Linked DNA regions of Homo sapiens: region 2 is linked to region 1. The links are contacts of gene promoters, found by promoter capture Hi-C in human tissues and cell types (Jung and others, 2019). All regions are on one chromosome and are shown on one strand. Each heading gives the region's core, a stretch centred on a gene start or on the middle of the fragment in contact. The rest is flanking DNA. Distances are from core to core; before and after follow the strand shown. Region 1 holds the start of APOBEC2 (apolipoprotein B mRNA editing enzyme catalytic subunit 2). Region 2 overlaps LOC101929555 (a long non-coding RNA gene).

The links. Contacts are between HindIII fragments. The study calls those that stand out against the background at their distance.
Region 2: a fragment that was not itself captured here is called in contact with the fragment with the promoter of APOBEC2 in region 1 in 4 of the 25 tissues and cell types used here (bladder, heart right ventricle, mesenchymal stem cells and 1 more).

Annotation. Positions count from the first base shown.
Region 1 is chr6:41,050,730-41,055,531 of GRCh38, forward strand. It overlaps APOBEC2 (apolipoprotein B mRNA editing enzyme catalytic subunit 2), which reads left to right and starts at 2,473. Exons shown (of 3, transcript NM_006789.4): 1 at 2,473-2,749. The coding sequence starts at 2,619. The HindIII fragment of the contact is 7,265 bases long and covers 1-3,411 here.
Region 2 is chr6:40,969,124-40,973,925 of GRCh38, forward strand. All of the region lies in intron 1 of LOC101929555 (a long non-coding RNA gene), which reads right to left. Among named protein-coding and RNA genes, the nearest start is that of UNC5CL, 68 kb to the right of the region's middle. The HindIII fragment of the contact is 6,341 bases long and covers 1-4,802 here.

The DNA of each region.
Region 1 (4,802 bases), core at 1,223-3,722:
CTCTTGGTATTTACCACCGCACCTGGAACATAGGAACCTCTGATAAATGTTGACTGAACAAGAAAATGAAGTAAACTCTTTACATTTAAACGTGGTATGTTTGTGTGATAACAACATTCTTTGCAGTTTATCAGCTGCCACTGTCTTTTTATTGTGGACACAGGCACTATTATCTCTACTCAGTGCTTTATTCCCCCCGAAAAATGTTTGAAAAAATAAGATCCAGATAAAAATGCTTTCAGTGGCTGGGCGCGGTGGCTCATGCCACCCAGCATTTTGGGAGGCCAAGGCAGGCGGATCACGAGGTCAGGAGATGGAGACCATCCTGGCCACATGGTGAAACCCTGTCTCTACTAAAATTACAAAAATTAGCTGGGCCTGGTGGCACATGCCAGTAGTCCCAGCTACTTTGGAGGCTGAGGCAGGAGAATCGGTTGAACTCGGGAGGCGGAGGTTGCAGTGAGCCAAGATCGTGCCACTGCACTCCAGTCTGGTGACAGAGTGAGACTCCATCTCAAAAAATAAATAATAATAATCCTTTTAGTAGTAAATCCAAAAGGTAGGGGACCATATAATTTATTGTCCACAGCGGGACACCTTTGGGAGTAAAGGGGTGCTATTAGTAATTATGTCTGGACAACAGGAAGAAACCATGACTGGCAAACCAAAATGCTGGGCATCACACTAACAGAGCACTCTGCTGCTCAGACTCTCTGGAGGAGTGAGCCCTAAATCTTCCAAACCATCTTGACTCCTCTTCTTTAGTCAGACCCTCCAAAGGGTGCCCTACCCTCTCATCCCCACCAGCCAAACCCATTTGGAGCTGTTTTCAGATCCGTTCCCCAGTGTTCTTAGGTTCCTCATTTTCAACCTACAAGTGACCCTGACCCCTTCCTTCTGCTTCCCTGAGAATGGCCTAGAGTGTTTGCACTGCTCCAAACACGAAGACTTTTGCCTCTGCTAAGTACCCATCATGAGAGCTGCAAAAATCATCTAGCCATCCTCTGCTGCTGTTCCGGCTCAGGGTCTTTTCTATGGGCCCCCATCATCTCTCTCTGGCCTCAGTAGGCTTCTCACTGGTCCCCTGCCTCTGCTCTTCCCAAGTGCTCAGACCACCTGTCTCACCTGTTCAGAGACAATGGCTTCCCACCTCAGTCTGAGAAAAAGCAAGGTACTTATGACAGCCCATAAGGCCCCAGTCCCTTTTACCCTTGTTATCTCTCTGGCTTAATCTCTTAGAACTCTTCAGTCACCCAGATGTATGTCCTCGCTAGTTCCTCAAACACCCCAGGAATGCTCCCTTCTCAGAGCCTTTGCTCACGTTGTTCCCTTCCTTGGAACGCTTTCCTCTTAGACAACCAAATGATTAGTTCCCTTGCCTTCTTCACGTCTTCTTCAATTGTCTCCTTTTCAAAGTCCTTCACCCTGGCCATCCTATAAGTACGTAACCCCACCTCTTAGCACTTCCTGTTTCCATTTCCTGTCTTTTCTCCTTGGCACTTGTCATCACAAAATAGACCATGTATTTTACTTACCTTATTTGTTGTTCAGTTCCTCAAGCTCCACAAATCATCACAGCAGGGATTTTCATTTGCTTTGTTCTTTTGCCATATTCCCAGTACCTGAAACAGCACCTGGCATAGAGTAGATACTCAATAAATATTTGTTAAGAAGAATAAAAGACTGACTGTGAGGGCACATAGCATGGAGGTTGAATATTTGGCCTGAAGTACAAAAGCCTGCATTTTAATCCCGGCTCTGCACACTTCTGTGACTCAGTTTACCTGTAACTTGGGATAATACACATCGCCTCCCATGGCTGTGGCAAGCATGCATCTGATTTCATTTAAACCCCTAAACCCACTGCCTGGCCTGTTTCAAAATCTCTGAGCTAAGTAAATGGCAGCTATTGTTACTCAGGGAGGCTCCTGATCGATTTGACATTACATTATGGCTTTGTAACAGGCAAATCAGCACCCACCGCTTTTGAGTCATAACTCACACACTTACTCCCCAAATTGTCAGTTTTGATCCCACCTCTGCCAGGACCCCTCCTTTCCTGAACCCACGTTCCCCCAAAGCAAATGGCCTGGGTCTTTTTGCAGTCAGCCCCTTTCAACACACATCTCCTCCTGTTTAAATCTCAGAAGGCCACCCTCCTAAATCTCAGGATGCCTGCCCTGGGGCCCCTTCCACACTCTCCCCCAGTGGAGCTAGGGAATTTGGGTGGGAAACAAAGGGGAGAACATAAGGTGAGCTGAGAGGGAGAGGGAGAAGAGAGCAGGCCAAGCCATACCCACCTGCCAGGTTCCTGTCTTTGCCTACTGATAAATAGGGGATACTAATGGCCAGATTTTCCATTCCCCCACCCCAGCACCCGCTGTCACTCAATTAAAAAAAGATAGAGGGAGAGAGCCTGGGGGAGGGGCAGGAGGCCTTGGCTATAAAGCCTGTGGCTAAGTGGGGAAAGCACGAAGCCTGGCCTGCTGGGTCCTTTTCCCGTCATCCCCAGCCAGATTTAGCTGCTGACAGCTGCTTGGGACTCTGCCGCCAGGGCCTGGCCCAGACCTGCCTGCCTCTCTCCTCTCCCTCAGTGACTCCTGAGCCACAGCCCCTCCATGGCCCAGAAGGAAGAGGCTGCTGTGGCCACTGAGGCTGCCTCCCAGAATGGGGAGGATCTGGAGAACCTGGACGACCCTGAGAAGCTGAAAGAGCTGATTGAGCTGCCGCCCTTTGAGATTGTCACAGGGTAAGCCTCAGATGTGGGTCAGGGTTCTGCTCCCTAGAAGAGTGCAGCCTTGGGTTAGGCTGTGGAAATTCAGGATGGTTATATTAGGCGTCAGGGACAGCTACAACCCTGCAGCAGTGAGAGTGCACCAGTGGGCCCGGCAGGGGTGGTAGGGGACCCAGCAGCAAATTCTCTTGGCTTCTCAGGGTGACACCTTGGGCTCTCTAATCAGGGAGAGGTAGGAGGAGCTCCTTGGAGGCAAAAGCCCAGAGAATAAAACCACCCTTCAGGCCTCCTGGTATTGGGATGGCCACCTGCCTCTCTGGGTAGAAGCTTAGTCCCAGGGAGTTTGGCGAGGACAGAGGATGAGACTGGCACATCTATATGTGGCTCCGTTCAAAGCAACCCTTCCCCTCAACTTCTCTGTTCCTGAGTGGGTCTCTCCGCTAGCCATAGGCCTCTAGCCCTTTCTTTAGAGCTTCTTCCTGGAGTAGATGCTCCCAAGACAGGAAAGATAGATCCATCCTTTCCCAAGACTCAGAAGCAGCTTTTTTCTTATTAAATCTTTTGAGTCTCCTCAGGGGCTGTCCCACAGAGAAACAGAGAAATTACATGCAGATAACGCAGCCCAGGAGCTTATGGACACAGGAGCTGTTCCAACATGCTCAGGCATTGCCTGGAGGAACTGGGACCCAAAGAAAAGGGTCTACAGACTGCAAGGAGGGGGCTGTGTGCAGGGTACCTCTGTCTTATCCAGATTATGCCATCTCCAGGAATAAAACTAAGTAGTCTTCTTCCTCTTCCCTTTCTATTCCTGTAGTGGAAGACCCTTCTAAATCCTGAGCAAAGAATAAAAAGAGAATCTATGAGGCCATATTTCCTCCTTGAACCAAACGTTCCCTTCATGGGGTCTCCAGGAATGACCACAGGCAGAGTGGGTGCGAGACTAAGAGAAGTTTCAGGAAGAAAGGAGGCATGATGCTTTCAAGGGGGAAAGGAAGCCCTGAGTGGCAATTTGGACTTGATATTTCAAGCTTGACAAGTGATTTTCCAGTCAGCCACAGTTTTAGCACTTATAACATGAAGATCTATAGTAGTAAGGTCCCTTCCAGCTCAGATGTTTTCTGATTTTCAAGAGAACCTAAGGGAAAATGCATCCTATTTCCTGAGGCAAGAGTAGCCCCTGAATTTCCATTTGCCCATGCCCACCCAACTAATCTCACCCTCATCCTAGGATTAAGGGAGCAGCTGGGCACAGATTAATATAGACACAGGGAAAGCCTAAGGCAGCCTGGCCAGGAGAGTCCTCAATTCCAGTGGCTTTCTTATGGAAGGAGAGCCTTTTTCTAACACCTAAGCATGCTGGTATACGCTATCCTTAGTCATACACACACGCGTGTGCACACTACACTCTTGTGTGGCTTTCCAACACAGAGGGAGGGTAGGTCAAGAACAGAATTAGACTATGTTTGTTCAGCTGAACATGCTTTGGGGGTCCCAGAGCAATGGATCCTGAAGGGTTAAGTCCACTGATATAACTTACATTTGTCCAGGGCTTTATAATCACAACATAGTTTCATGAACATGAGACCATTCAACACTCAGCACAAAGGTAGGAGAGGGAGATATATTATTGCCACTTTACAGAGGGGGAAACTGAGACTCAGAGAGATTGAATGGTATGTCCAAAACCACAGAACTGGTAGGTGGCACATCTTCTTACTCCCAGCAAAGTATCCTTTCTACTGGTTTCTTATTCATTCTGGATCCCAGGTTTCCCAGAGCTCCACGTTATCTCTATCTGGGAGGTAGTGAGGACCCAAGGCTCAGAAAAAGGGGCACAGAAGGGGCAACGTTCTGAGCATTCTGTGAACAGTTCAGGTGGGAGCAGAGCGCTGAGTGTTTCCTGGCCACAAGTAACAGCTGTAGAGAGCTGTCTCCTGGGCCCCTCTGGGTAAACAGATGGCTTAAAATAGCCCAGAGGTGCAGCTGGGTCTGTGCAGGGAGAGGGTGAGGGAATAGCTTTCCTCTCCTTCCCTCTTGAGATGCATTCCCCCCAGGACTCCCTCCTGGA
Region 2 (4,802 bases), core at 703-3,202, 82 kb before region 1:
AATTTGCATCTCCTGTTGGAAGTCTTCCTCATCAAAGCAACGGAAATCAATGCAGTAAATAGTTATAATGAACTGACCTGCTCACACTCCCTGTCTCTTCCTGAGGAAGAGGAATCATGAGAGACACATTGTTTCCAAATCCTTCACCTCTTTCCCCCTCGCCTGATCCTCCCACAGGGAATCCTCTTTGCTCCTGTCAACAGTGTTTGAGATGTTTCAGAGTTTTTATTGGATCTTCATTGTAGCTCTGTCTGTGAGGATTCAGTGAAGCTAAGATTTAAGGGCCAGAGAGAGTTGAAACTTCTACCAAGCATCAGCCATGGCTGCCCTGCTTTCCAGAGTACTGTCCACGGACCTCTGGGCCTCAGGGACTAGAGAATGTCAGGGGACCATCTCATTTCATACATGTAAAAACTGAGGCACGGAGAGGGCAGGACCACCCAGCACAGGATCAGCACACCTCTCCAACATCAGTACACCCCACCTTTTCAGGCAGATACAGGAATCTCCTCCGCAGCAAAGTGTTGATAGGTGGGAAGCAGTGCTGTGATGCCCTTAGCTTTGGCATCCAAATGCTTGAGTTTTAATGCCTGACCCACCATTTCCTTGCTGTACAAGACCTTGAGAAAGCTAATTAACCTCTCAGTAACTGTTTTCTCATATATAAAACAGGGATGAAAATAAAAGTATGTGCTCCATTGAGTTGTTGGAAGCTTTAATAAACACAGGAAAAAAATTAGAATTGTGTCTACCATGTAGTAAGTATTCAATAAATGTCAGTGACTATGCCCATGATGAATATGGTGAATATGATTATGATGATCATGGGCATTATCCCTGGTGCTAAGAGTCACTTCTACAGGAGTTTAGCTTGCCCTGACCTAGAACATTGAGGCAGGGCATGAACTCAATGTTGCACTGAGAACCAGTCTAACACAGGAATGTTTTCTCTGTTTCACAGGTGTCAGTCATGTTCTCTGGATAAATGATAAGATTGAAAGTCCTTGAAGGCAGGAGACAGCCCCAGATATCGTTTTGTTGTCTGACACAATACCAAGCACAAATGATGTGCCTAAATCCTGGGTCTTTAACCCAAGGCCATCTACATATGCCCTGGGCCTGCCAGCTCATGAAAACCAGCCTCTGTGGCAGTTGGGGTGCTAAGGAATTGCTCCAGTTGAGCTTCACTGGTTTTTACTCTTGGCTGTCATGCTTGGATCTCTTGATTATGTTCCATCAGTTCACCCCCTGCCTCTGGGCTGAAAGATTTGGTGTTCTTTCTAAGTTTTCTTGCATGATTTGTGGCTTAGAACGTCTTTCCCGTACATCTCTAGCCCTTTCCATCTCAAATGTTGACTCAGATTATTGGCTCAGGGCAAAGCCACTGGCTCCAGCTCTTAACCCTGTAGAATCTCACCTATCCCTGGCACCCAACATAGACATCCACCCCTTCAACTCCACCAAGCTAGGGAGTAGAGAGTAGTTGTCTTTTCCATCCATTCTCTCCCTTCCCCTCCTTGTCTAATTTCTAAGAGTTAAGAGTGGGCACTTTTCCAACATTTCCGTGGTTACGGGTAACTATGTCACTCAATCCTGGCCACATGAGGTGGGACACTAGCCCACTGGAAGAGTTTTCTTCTTAATAGAAGAGAGAAATCTGTAAGAATAATCCCCCACTGTTCCTACCTTGGGTGCTATTATGTGAGGCCTTGATGCTTGAACCTGTGGCAATGATCTTGCAACATGAGGAAAGGGTCACAAGAATTGCAGAGATACTGACTGGAGCCCTGAGCTGTTAAATAAACCAACTCCAAACCAATGGGAATGGGGTATGGAACCACCAGTCTCTAGATTTTCTGTGACAAGGAACAATTAAGCTTCCATATTTCTTAAGCCTATTTTAGTCAAGAGCTCAGTTAGTTGCAGGCAGAAGCATTCCAAAGTTTTATCAAGTAAGCATCAATTTGCCTATCACAAACTTTATCAAGGTGTTGGTAGATTCTACCTTGTAGACATAATGTGATCTACTAGGAATCTATGTAGAAAATTCAAGAATCCAAGAATTTGGGAGAAAACTTAAAAGTCGTCCATATCTGACATATAGATCAATGGAATAAAATGGAGGGTCCAGAAACAAACTCTCATATTTATGGTCAACTGATTCTCAACAAGGGTGCTAAGAAAATTCAATGGGGGAAATAATAGGCTTTTTGCCAAATAGTGCTAGATAACAGAATATATCCACATGCAAAATATGAATTCAGAACCCTATCACACACCATATAAAAAAATAGCTCAAATGGATCAAATATCTAAATGTAAGCACTAAGACTACTAAACTTTAAAAGAGAATGCATGTATAAATCCATGACCTTGGATTAGGCAATGGTTTCTTAGATATGACACCAAAAGCAATCAAAGAAAAAGACATATAAATTGGACATTAACAAAATTTAAAAATGTTGTGCTTCAAAGAACATCATCAAGAAAATTTAAAAAACCTTGAATACTGTATATATTTTCTCCAAAAAAGTTACACAAATAGCCAATAAGCTCACAATGTGCTTCTCTGCTGAGCCCAGAGAGAGCAAGATACTACTACTCAACTAGCCCTTTAGACAGCCACCACAAACACATACGAACGGGCACATGGGATGAAATGTGTTTACCATTCCCAATCTAGGACAACGGTACCCAAAGGAAATGTTGGTGACTATGCCCATGATGAATGCTTATAAACCAACATTTCCTTTGTTTTGTAAAACATTTGAAGCCATGTCCATGGACACAGAGGAAACCATGACGGCACCAGAATGTCTATTTCTGTCCTTGAGATGATGCTAAGACTAGGATATCCCTGTGTCTAGGAACTCACTACTATTGTACTGGTGTAGCTCAGTCCATCTTTGAGGAACAAAAAGAAGTTCTATTTTTTTATTTCAACTTTTATTTCAGATTCAGAGGGTACATGTGCAGGTTTGTTGCAAGGGTATATTGCATGATGCTGAGGTTTGGGGTACAATTGAACTCATCATCCAGGTAGTGAGTATAGTACCCAATAGGTAGTTTTTCAACCCTTGCCCCTCTCCTTCCATCCCTCTCTTGTAGTCCCCAGCATCTAGTGTTCCCATCTTTATGCCATGTATACTCAATGTTTAGCTCCCGCTTATAAGTGAGAACACGCAGTATTTGGTTTTCTGATTCTGTATTAATTCTCTTAGGATTATGGCATCCAGCTGCATCCATGTTGCTGCAAAGGACATAATCTCATTATTTTTTATGGCTGTATAGTATTCCATGGTACATATGTACCACATATTATTTATCCAATCCACTGCTGATGAGCACCTAAGTTGATTCCATGCCTTTCCTATTGTGAATAGTGCTGTGATGAACATACGAGTACAAGTGTCCTTTTGGTAGAATATTTATTTTCCTTTGGGTATATCCCCAGTAATGATATTGCTAAGTTGAATGATAGCTCTATTTTTAGTTATTTGAGAAATCTCCTAACAGCTTTCCACAGTGCCTGAACTAATTTACACTCCCACCAACAGTGCAAAAGCATTGCCTATTCTCCGCAACCTCGCCAACATCTGTTGTTTTTTTACTTTTTAGTAATAGCCATTCTGACTGATGTGAGATGGTATTTCATAGTGGTTCTTATTTATATTTCTCTGACGATTAGTGATGTGGACCATTTTTTATATGTTTCTTGGCCACTCGTATGTCTTCTTTTGAAAAGTGTCTGTTCATGTCCTTTACCCACTGTATAATGAAGTTGTTTTTCACTTGTTGATTTGTTTAAGTTCCTTATAGACCTTTGTCAGGTGCATACCTTGCGAATATTTTTTCCCTTTCTGCAGGTTGTCTGTTTACTCTGTTGATAGTTTCTTTTGTTGTGCAGAAGCTCTTTAGTTTAATTAAGTCCTACTTGTCAATATTTGTTTTTGTTGCAATTGTTTTTGAGGACTTAGTCATAAATTCTTTGCCAAGGCCAATGTCCAAAAGGGTATTTCCTAGATTTTTTTCTAGGGTTTTTATAGGTCGAGGTCTCAGATTTAAGTCTTTCATCCATCTTGAGTTAAGTGATAAGTGCACACAAATTAAGGTTTTTTTAAGTATTTTTAACTTTTTTAAAGTATTTTTTAGGTATTTTTAACCCTTATTTTAGATTCAAGGGTACATGGGCAGGTTTGTTACATAGGTAAATTCATATCACAGGAGTTTGTTGTATGGATTATTTTGTCACGCAGGTATTATGCCTCGTACAAAACAGTTTTTTTTTCTGCTCTTCTCCCTCTTCTCTTCTTCCACTCTCAGGTATGCCCTGATGTCTGTTGTTGCCCTCTTTGTGTCCATGTGCTCTCATCATTTAGCTCCCACTTATACGTGAGAACACGTGGTATTTGGTTTTCTGTTCCTGAGTTAGTTTGCTAAGGATACTGGCCTCCAGTTCCAACCATGTTCCTGCAAAGGGCATAGTCTCATTATTTTTTATGGCTTTGTAGTATTCCATGGAGTATTGTACCACATTTTCTTTATCCAATCTACTGTTTAGGTTAATTCCATGTCCTTGCTACTGTGAATAATGCTGTGACAAACATACACATGCAGGTGTCTTTATGGTAGAATAATTTACATTCTTTTGCGTATATACCCAGTAGTGGGATTGCTGGGTTGAATGGCAGTTCTGTTTTTAGCTCTTTGAGAAATTGCCACACTGCTTTCCACAATGGTTGAACTAATTTACACTCCTACCAACAGTGTGTAAGCGTCCCCTTTTCTCTGCAACCTTGCCA